Regions from separate parts of the Homo sapiens genome. Here regions 1 and 2 are each linked to region 3. Evidence: promoter capture Hi-C in 16 types of primary human blood cells and fetal thymus (Javierre and others, 2016). All regions are on one chromosome and are shown on one strand. Each heading gives the region's core, a stretch centred on a gene start or on the middle of the fragment in contact. The rest is flanking DNA. Distances are from core to core; before and after follow the strand shown. Region 1 has its middle 39 kb from the start of LINC02727. Region 2 has its middle 55 kb from the start of LINC02727. Region 3 holds the start of GRAMD1B (GRAM domain containing 1B).

The links. The method cuts DNA at HindIII sites, captures the fragments that hold promoters and counts their contacts. A CHiCAGO score of 5 or more calls a contact.
Region 1: a contact is called between a fragment that was not itself captured here and the fragment with the promoter of GRAMD1B in region 3, in 1 of 17 cell types (fetal thymus). The highest score is 5.3, in fetal thymus.
Region 2: a contact is called between a fragment that was not itself captured here and the fragment with the promoter of GRAMD1B in region 3, in 1 of 17 cell types (fetal thymus). The highest score is 7.7, in fetal thymus.

The regions. Positions count from the first base shown.
Region 1 is chr11:123,274,506-123,277,685 of GRCh38, reverse strand. No RefSeq gene overlaps it. Among named protein-coding and RNA genes, the nearest start is that of LINC02727, 39 kb to the left of the region's middle. The HindIII fragment of the contact is 6,858 bases long and covers 1-3,180 here.
Region 2 is chr11:123,257,899-123,260,862 of GRCh38, reverse strand. No RefSeq gene overlaps it. Among named protein-coding and RNA genes, the nearest start is that of LINC02727, 55 kb to the left of the region's middle. The HindIII fragment of the contact is 3,544 bases long and covers 1-2,964 here.
Region 3 is chr11:123,428,819-123,432,122 of GRCh38, reverse strand. GRAMD1B (GRAM domain containing 1B) reads right to left here and starts at 1,854. Exons shown (of 20, transcript NM_001387025.1): 1 at 957-1,854. The coding sequence starts at 1,330. LOC124902776 (a long non-coding RNA gene) reads left to right here and starts at 909. Exons shown (of 2, transcript XR_007062928.1): 1 at 909-1,176. RefSeq lists silencers at 1,227-1,276, 1,387-1,716. The HindIII fragment of the contact is 5,032 bases long and covers 1-3,304 here.

The DNA of each region.
Region 1 (3,180 bases), core at 593-3,092, 150 kb after region 3:
GTTTCAGTTTTACAAGATGAAAAAGTCCTGGAGATTGGTTGTACAATGATGTAAATACACTGAACACTTCTGAACTATACATTTGAAAATGGTAACATGGTAAATTTTACATTATGTGAATTTTTTAAAAAACCATAATTTAACAAAAAATCGTTCCATCTCATCCTCTGCCTTCAAACTGGACAAAAGTTTGATGTGTCCCAAACAGATGGGACCCTTTTGTGTGCTTAATGATCTTGAGAAAATACTGCACCATCTACTTCCTGCCACCGTACATACAAGTGCTCTCACCCCTCTCTATGGGGTTTCCTATTTGGATACACCAGAATGCCTTTTGGGCAGTGTAGTCTCTTTCCAAACATTGAAAAGAAAAAAAAAAAAAAACTAACTAACTAAATTCACACCTTAGAAGGCAATTTTAGAACCATTGTGTGAAATCACTGTTTGTTTCCTTCCTGTCTTCCTTTCTGCAAGCAGAAGCAGGAATGAGACATTGACTATTATGCTTAGACTAGGTCAAGAATTGTTTTTTTAAAAGAAGGAGGTGTGGACATGAATACCTATAGCACGCTGTGTATGCAAACAAAGCACATTTCAAAGTGCTTTTACAGATATTCACTCATTTAATCCTCATAACAACCCTATGGGGTGAGTACTCCTACCATCACCCCTGTTTTATAGATGAGGAAATTTTGACACAGAGGTTTTAGGTAAACCACCCAGTTAAATTCTGGTTTCACCACTCCATAAAGTGCAGAAACCAGGATGTAATCCCAGGCAGTCTATCTCCTACAATGGAAATGCTCTAAAACACCAGCCAGTACAGCCCTTAGACCCAGTCAAGGAGGGGTTCCCATTCTGTGCCCCATGCTCCAGGGGATCCCACACTCTGGCTTCCCATCTGGCTCCCATGGGGAGAGAAGTCTGTGGGCCAAGAAGCCATGACCAGCTGAATCCCATGCCAGGTACCCCTGCTCCCAGTATTCTCTATGCAAATAGCCCCAAACCTGCTTCTAGGGCCTCCACAGGCTCCTTTCTTAAGCCCATCCCCGGAGAGTGGCACTGCACCCCAGCTGTGCACTGCTGGAACCAAGAGGGGGTGCAGGGGTGACTGCAGGGAGTAGGAGGGAGCTCCAATGTGTGGCTACACTGCCCTCGCAGGCAAGTCAGAGCCAGAAGTGAAAAGGGAAGGGAGAAGGCTGCAGGCTGGGGCATAAGGAGCCAAAAGCCAGCTCTCCCCACAACCCATGTTGTTGTTTTTTTTTGAGACAGAGTCTCGCTGTCACCCAGGCTGGAGTGCAGTGGTGCAGTCTCAGCTCTCTGCAACTTCTGCCTCACCAGCTCAAGTGATTCTCGTGCCTCAGCCTCCCAAGTAGCTGTAATTACAGGTGTGTACCACCATGTCCAACTAATTTTTGTATTTCTAGTAGAGACAGGGTTTCACCATGTTGGCCAGGTTGGTCTTGAACTCCTGGCCTCAAGTGATCCACCTGCCGCAGACTCCCAAAGTGCTGGGATTAAAGGAGTGAGCCACCACGCCTGGCTGTGTGTGTTTTGACACACAACTCCAAGGGGTCCAATAATTCTCATTTTAAACTGGGCCTTCCAGGTCGTTATACAGATCTATGTGTTAAAGTAGAATAGGACATATTTAATGAGCAATTTGTTTTCCAATTCAGAACTTTAAATATTCAGAGGTAAGTGGGCTTTCAGATGTAGTCTTGCCTCAGGCCACGATGTTAGGGGTGGGCCTATTCCGTGTGAATCTGCTTCTCGTAGAGCTGACCCTCATGGAGTACTCCCTGGTCAGGCACTGCTATGAGCCCTGCTATGAGCACTTTACATATATTCTGACCTTGTCTTCATAACAGTGCAATAAGACAGAAATCTCCAGGTCCCACATGAAAGTTGTGATCAGAAGTTGTGTGAGAGTAGGATTTTTCTCGTGTCCCTTATCCTGCAAGAAGACTGGTCTATAAAAAAAGATAACTCTCTCTTGTGACTCTAAATATCCTTTAAAAATACCAAATAAACCCAAGAGTTTGAGACCAGCCTAGGCAACATAGGGGAGACCGCATCTCTACAAAAAAATTAAAAAATTAGGCCGGCATGGTGGCACACACCTGTGGTCCCAGCTACTCAGGAGGCTGAGATGGGAGGATCGCTTGAGCCTCAGAGGTCAAGGCTGCAGTGGGTTGTGATTGTGACACTGTACTCCAGCCCGGGCAACAGAGCGAGACCCTGTATCTAAAAAAAAAAAAAAAAAAAAAAAGCCAAATAAGGAGAATTGTAGTCATATCTAGATTTTTGGACAATCCCACTACATTATTTTCCTATCCTGCTCAAATGAAAACAGCCAGGACAACTATTAAGCCACCCTGATAGAAGGAACTGAGCCAGCCTGGATGCCACCTTTGAGAAGGAGGGCAGGAAGTCAGGTCTCCTCCCATGGATCTAAGGCGGGGGCCCTGCTGCCTGACACTACAGTGAAGCGCAGTGTGCCCTGTGTTTTCTATGGGACTATTCTTTACAAAACGATCTCATTTAATCTCGTATCATCTTGAGATCAGAAAGTTCAGAGACGCTTTGCTCATGCTACAGAAAAGAAAACGGACTCCAGGAGTACTCAAATGCATTGCCCAGGAAATTTGAATCTGTTGCTGATAAAACCAGGTCTGGCTTCCAGGTAATGCTCTTGTTCCCAAGTTATCACCCTCATCTAATAGAAAATCCTAGCCCATTGCCCACCTTAGGTGATAGATAATAATTTTGCCTTTGGGGAGGCCTTAATTTTTTCTAAATGCACTGAATTAAAATGCCTTTGTCCTTTTCCTCAGGTATGTATCAAAAAGGCAGGCCAGGCCCAGTGGCTCATTGCTGTAATCCCAGCACTTTGGGAGGCCAAGGAGGGAAGGTCATTTGAGCCTAGGGGTTTGAGACCAGCCTGGGCAACATAGCAAGATTCCAACTCTACTAAAATAAAAAATAAAAAATATTAGCTGGGTTTGGTGATGCACACTTGTAGTCCCAGCTACTTGGGAGGCCAAGGCGGGTAGATCGCTTGAGCCCAAGACTTCAAGACTGGCCTGGTCAACATAGTGAGATGCCCACCTGTACAAAAAAAGAAACGAAAATTAGCCTGGTGTCTTGTGCCTGTAATCCTAGCTACTCAGGAGGCTG
Region 2 (2,964 bases), core at 28-2,527, 170 kb after region 3:
GTTGCAGTAAAGAAGCCATCCAAAACCCACCAAAACCAAGATGGCCATGAGAGTGACCTCTGCTCATCCTCACTGCTCATTATATGCTAATTATCATTCACTAGCATGCTAAAAGTCACTCCCACCAATGCCATGACAGTTTACAGATGCCATGGCAACGTCAGGAAGTTACCCTATGGAGTCTAAAAAGAGGAGGAACACTCAGTTCCGGGAATTGCCCACCCCTTTCCCAGAAAACTTATGAATAATCCACCCCTTGTTTAGCATACAATCAAGAAGTAACAATAAGTCCAAGCAGCTCAACAAACCCAGCCGTTGCTCTGCCTGTGGAGTAGCCACTGTTTATTCCTTTACTTCCCTAATAAACTTGCTTTCACTTTATGGATTCGCCTGGAATTCCTTCTTGTGCAAAATCCAAGAACCCTCTCTTGGGGTCTGGATTGTGACCCCTTTGCAGTAACACCAGCACTTTGGGAAGCAAAGGTGGGCAGATTGCTTGATCCCAGGAGTTTGAGACCAGCCTGGCCAACATGGTGAAAAATACAAAAATTAGCCAGGCGTGGTGGTGCGCACCTGTGGTCCCAGCTACTCAGGAGGCTGAGGTGGGAGGATCACCTAACCCCAGGAGGTGGAGGCTGCAGTGAACTGGGATTTTGCCACTGTGCTATAGCCTGGGTGACAGAGTGAGACCCTGTCTCAAAAATAAAAAAATAAAAAGTAGGATAGTAGGGCATACTTCATGAAATTGTGAGGGCTCAGTGCACTGTGGTAGGCATTTAGATGCTACATACCCTTTCCTGCTCACCGCTGCAAGACCTCGCATCAGTAATTAAAGTGGATATACTCTCCTTTTGTAGCCTGCATGCCCAGGATTTTATTCCTTTATTCCTTTAAAATCATTCCTCATCAACCGCTCAATTTTGCTTTGCAAGTTTTGGGACATGGCTTCCTAGGGCAGAGGGATGTGTGGGATGGAGGGTTTTTGTTTAAAATGCAGATTAAAGCTGAATGCAGACTGCTGAGACCACCTCGGTCGGGGAGACCATAACCCAGCGGTGCTAGAGGAATTAAAGACACACACACAGAAATACAGAGGTGTGAAGTAGGAAATCAGGGGTCTCACAGCCTTCAGAGCTGAGAGCCCCGAACAGATATTTACCCACGTATTTATTAACAGCAAACCAGTCATTAGCATTGTTTCTATAGATATTAAATTAACTAAAAGTATCCCTTAAGGGAAATGAAGGGATGGGCCGAATTAATTGAGTAGGTTGGGCTAGTTAACTGCAGCAGGAACACGCCCTTAAGACACAGATCGTCAGGCTTTTGTTTGTGGCTTAAGAATGCCTTTAAGCGGTTTTCTGCCCTGGGTGGGCCAGGTGTTCCTTGCCCTCATTCCCCTAAACCCACAACCTTCCAGCTTGGGCGTTAGGGCCATTATAGACATGTTACAGTGCTGCAGAGATTTTATTCATGGCCAGTTTTGGGGCCAGTTTATGGCCAGATTTTGGGGGGCTTGCTCCCAACAGCAGACCTCTCCAATCAAGGTCTGCGCTAGCACCTCTCACGTGGCTTGCTTTCAGAAGCCCTGGGCTGTCCTGATGACAAGCTCTTTGCTAAGGTGGAAGAAGAACAGCACATTTTCTTCCAGCATCCTTCCTGCTTTAGGCTTCTTACCTTAGAAATGTGGAAATAGGGCTGTGGGTTTTGTCTGGTTTTGAGGTGGGCAAAACAGAAGGACAGGATGTGGTTTTGAACTATCTGACACCTCTCTCCAAGACTTCCAGAGGTCCGAATACATCACAATTTCTCACTTTCTCCTAAACTCATAGTCAGAAAGCCAGGTGGGAGCCAGGTGTTTGGGGTACATTTTTGGGCACAGGGGAAGTCACTTTGCTGGATTCTGCAGACACAGACTTGCCTGGCTCTGCGACTATTGTATGACAAAGAATTTGTCTAGTCTTTAACCCAGGTTTAGAGCTGAACTTCAAAAACCCCTGAACTTTCCCAAGTGATAGAAGTGGCTTTGTTATTCATGAGCTCCTTGAATCACACCTGAGTTTATGATGAGATTGCTCAGGCCAGGTGCTGTGGCTGGCATCTGTAATCCCAGCTGCTCCAGAGGCTGAGGTGGGAGGATTGCCTGAGGCCAGGAGTGTGAGATAACGAAATGGCTCAGGATGGAGGCTGGTTATCAGAAAGACCAACCATGAAATTAGAGGGTTGGGGCTTTGAGCCCAGAAAAGGGAGGGGGCTGGAGATTGAGTTATCAGTTATGTCTACAAAGTGAAACTCCAATAAAAACCCTAGACATTGAAGCTCATTGAGCTTCTTGGTTGGTGAACACACCAATATGCCAAGAGGGTGATGCACCCTGATCCACAGAGAAAGGACACAGAAGCTCTTCATTCGAGGCCCACCCGGACCTCTCCCTGTGCATCTCTTCATTTAGTTGGTCCTGATTTGTATACTTTAGAATAAAAGTATAATCATAAGAATAGCACTTTCCCGAGTTCTGTGAGTCATTCTAGCAAATTATCAAACCTGAAGGGCATTGTAGGGACCCCCAGATTTGAAGCCAATTGGTCAGAAATGTGAGTGCCTGGGGACCCCTTTTGCAGCTGACATCTAAGTGGGGACAATCTTGTTGAGAACGACACCTTCACCTTGTGGGGTCTACACTAACTTCAGGTGGTTAATGCCCACATGGAACTGCAGTACAAACATTGGTGTCACCACAGCCATTTACTGCTACCTGGTCTCCAGCAAGTTACTCATCCCTGAGGTTTAGTTTCTTCATCTATGAAATGAAGCTAGCTGGAATGATCATTATAGCCATTCACAACGAGACAGTATCAGTGAAAGTGCTTTGTACACTGCCTGGTGCTACATAAAATGCTTGTTTCTGTTCCTATTGATCCACCTGGGGACCTCAGGCAAGCCCAGCCTTCCTGAGCCTTAGTT
Region 3 (3,304 bases), core at 605-3,104:
TTGAAATCAATGTAATTGAACAGATTTGGAGAAGGAATTCCAGGGAAAGTGATCAATGACTCAGTTGCTCCGCACAAGAACACAAATCCATTAAGAGACAGGACCCTAAAGTCTCAAAGTAAATATGTAGGATTCGTGGTACCGATGAACAAGTGAGGACTCCCTGCCCTCCACCAGGCAAGGGGCTTGGCTCAGACACAACTTCCTGAAGCAGCAGTCCTGACCAGGGCTGTGTAGAGCTGCTCTAGGGCGCCCTGCAGCAATTCTCTACGTGAGGGAAGCTCAACCTTCTCCCATTACCCAGATGCCACATTGACCTAGGCAAAAAACTAGCTGGTACAAACCACAGTCTTGTAGGTATCGATGTCTAAAGACTCTGATATGGTAGGAAATGTGACTCACTCAATGTCAATATTTCACTTCCACACAAGTGAGCCAGTTAAGGCAATCCGGTGTGGCCAAACATAAAATAAGATTGAAACGGAGTCCTGAAATATAAACCACTTAACTGTTCTCTGGCCTTTTACTATCTCCTTCTGTAGAAAGGGAGCCATAGTAATACCTACCTCAGAGAGTTTGCGTAGGGATGAAATCTGGAGGTACATGAAGTGCGCAACATAGTGGCCCGCACATGGTAAGGGCTCAATAACTATTAGCTGTTATTATTTTTATTATTTATTTCGCTGCGAGGATCAAGGGAGATGGAATGCAGCGTAAAGCCCCACGTAAACGTGTCGTGCAACATGAAGCCCCTCACCCTGAGTTGGGGAGCGGGTGGCACGCGTGGAAGCTGAATGCCACCATCCCTGGGACCAGGCGCAGCGCCCTCCAGAAGCGCCTCTGGTGACGGGCTCCTGTTCTCCCCCAGGACGTTTCCCCCAGAATGCCCCGGGGCCCTGGACGGCTCTGGAGAGGACGGGAGGGAAGGGAAGGAGACGGGCGGAACGGGGACGTACCTGCTTTCACTGCACTCCTTCCGCTCCCTCACCCTCAGCCACTTGCGGAGGAGGAAGCGTTTTCGGCGCGGGGACGCGCTGGGTGTGGAGCAGTTGGACCACGGGGTGTCCTCGTCGCTGGAGGGCGTGATCTCGATGGACGGCAGCTGCAGGAACTCCTTGCCGGGGGCCAAGACGGCGGGCAGGTCCCGGGCCAGCCCGGCCTCCAGGCTCTGCTCCTGTACGTTCTTCATGCGGCGCATCTTGAAGCGCCGGCGGCGAAGCGTGGGGGTCGACGAACTGGACCAGACCGGGCTGCCCTCGGGCGCACCCTGCGGCTCGGGCACCTGCAGGGCGGGCAGCGGCCGGTTCTCCATCATGTTGGCCGCCGGCATGGGGGCCGTCGCCTCTGCGCTCCCCCTGAGCCCTCCGCCAGCGGCCTGGTTCGCGTCTCCCTCTGGCTGTTCCCCACCCTCGGCCCCGCGGCACACTCCCCAATCCTGGGGCCGAAGGAACAAGTTCCTTTCCCGGAGCGCAGCGAGGAAGGGACGCGAGGGGACGCGGCGTAGCGCGCCGCCGCCCGGAGTCTAACTTTTCGGAGCGCGCGTCCTCCGGGCCGTCAGCCGCCGGCGAGGCCACCCGGGAGGGGCGGGAGCCGCCTGCCAGCCACTCGGCAGCCCTCCTGGGGCTCCCCTCGCGCGCCCGCTTGTTTTTCTTCCGCTGCGCTTCCTCGCTTGCTGGCGTCTTTGCCTTAGCGGGACTCGGCAGCCAGGGGCCCCAGGGGGCGGTGCAGCAAACTCTCAGCGGTTTGCGTTCAGCAGACCAGGTTGGGGAGCCGGCTTGGCGCTGCAGGGAGGTAGAGAGCGGGAGGAAGAGGCAGTGGTAGGAGGGAAAGGGAGAGAGAGACAGAGAGAGAGAGAGAGAGAGGAAGCGAGACACTGGATAAAAACAAAAAAGGAGGAGGAGGAGCGGGGGCTGGGGGCGGGGTGAGGGGGGCTATCCTGAATGGGCTAGCACTGGCAGCGACCGCTAGTGTAACTGTACACGGATTCCCTCGGGGAGGGACTCGACCTCCAAGTAAAGGCTGCTCCAATCAGCCTACTGAAATAGGATCACAAACCAAACTTTCTCAGGGCAACGATTGGCCAGGCAACTCCCATTAGTCGAACTCGGCTATTTCCTTGGGGGTGGGGGGTGCAGAGAAAGGGGAGTCAATGAATTCAGTCCTCACTCTCTCAGGCCACCCATGATACAGGGTTGAAGGAAAATGAGGAGACTTTTCAACTAGCTCTTGTCTCCTAAGAAAGGCAGTTTAAATTATTTGGGGGCGTGAGTAGTGGCACTGCAGGCCGGAGTATAGTCAGAGGAGGAAAGCAAGGTTGCTGGAGGCTGCTTCCAAAATGACAAGCTGAGAAGAGGACAGTTCTCCCGTGGCGGCGTGAGCTGAGGATACCAGACATGACATACCAAGGAAAGACAGACAACAGGGTCTGAGAGACAAAGGACACAGGACCAGTAAGGAAAATGGGGCCTGAACCCTGTACATGAGCCAGCTGCCAGTACCATAGCCGCGTCCCTAGCAAAGAATGAAATGAGGAGTCGGTGAGCACCCACAAAGCAATGCATCCAACAGAGCCCCAGGGAGTCGAGGGTACCCCCCCTTACATTGCTGAGGGCTGATTCAGTTCTGCTTCAGCCTGCCATGGACTGAGTCACAGAATCCAGTATGTCCCCATGTCATGGAACCTAGGAAGTCTGGTTCAGTCCTGGTAGCATCCCAAGATGTGCTGAACCACACTCACTCTCTAGACCCAGGCCCTAAGAGATCATCAACCCTAGAACCGATCCATCCTATTTAGGTGCTCTCTGTGGGCACTGAGTCTAACCCAGCCCAGCTCCTAGAGCAGGGCTGTAGCAGCCATTCTCCTCCTTCAACCCCAGCCCAATGCATTTGTCTCTTGGGTCAGTAACTGTTTTGTTTTGTTTTGTTTTTAAGAGACAAAGTCTCACTCTGTTGCCCAGGCTGGAGTGCAGTGGTGCAGTCATGGCTCACCGCAACCTTGAATTCCTGGGCTCAAGCTGTCCTCCCAGCTGAGCCTCCTGAGTAGCTGGGAGTACAGGTGCGCACCACCACACGCAGCTAAGTTTTATTTCTTTTTGTCGATATGAGGTCTTGCTATATTGCCCAGGCTGGTCTCAAACTCCTGGCCTCAAGTGATCTGCCCACCTTGGCCTCCCAAAGTGCTGAGATTACAGGCATGAGCCACCATGCCCAGCCTGGTCAGTAACTTTCAAAGAGATCATGAGAAGCACCCAAGAACATACCATGAAGTCCACAATCTGATCCACCCTTCTTTTCTGCCTCTCTC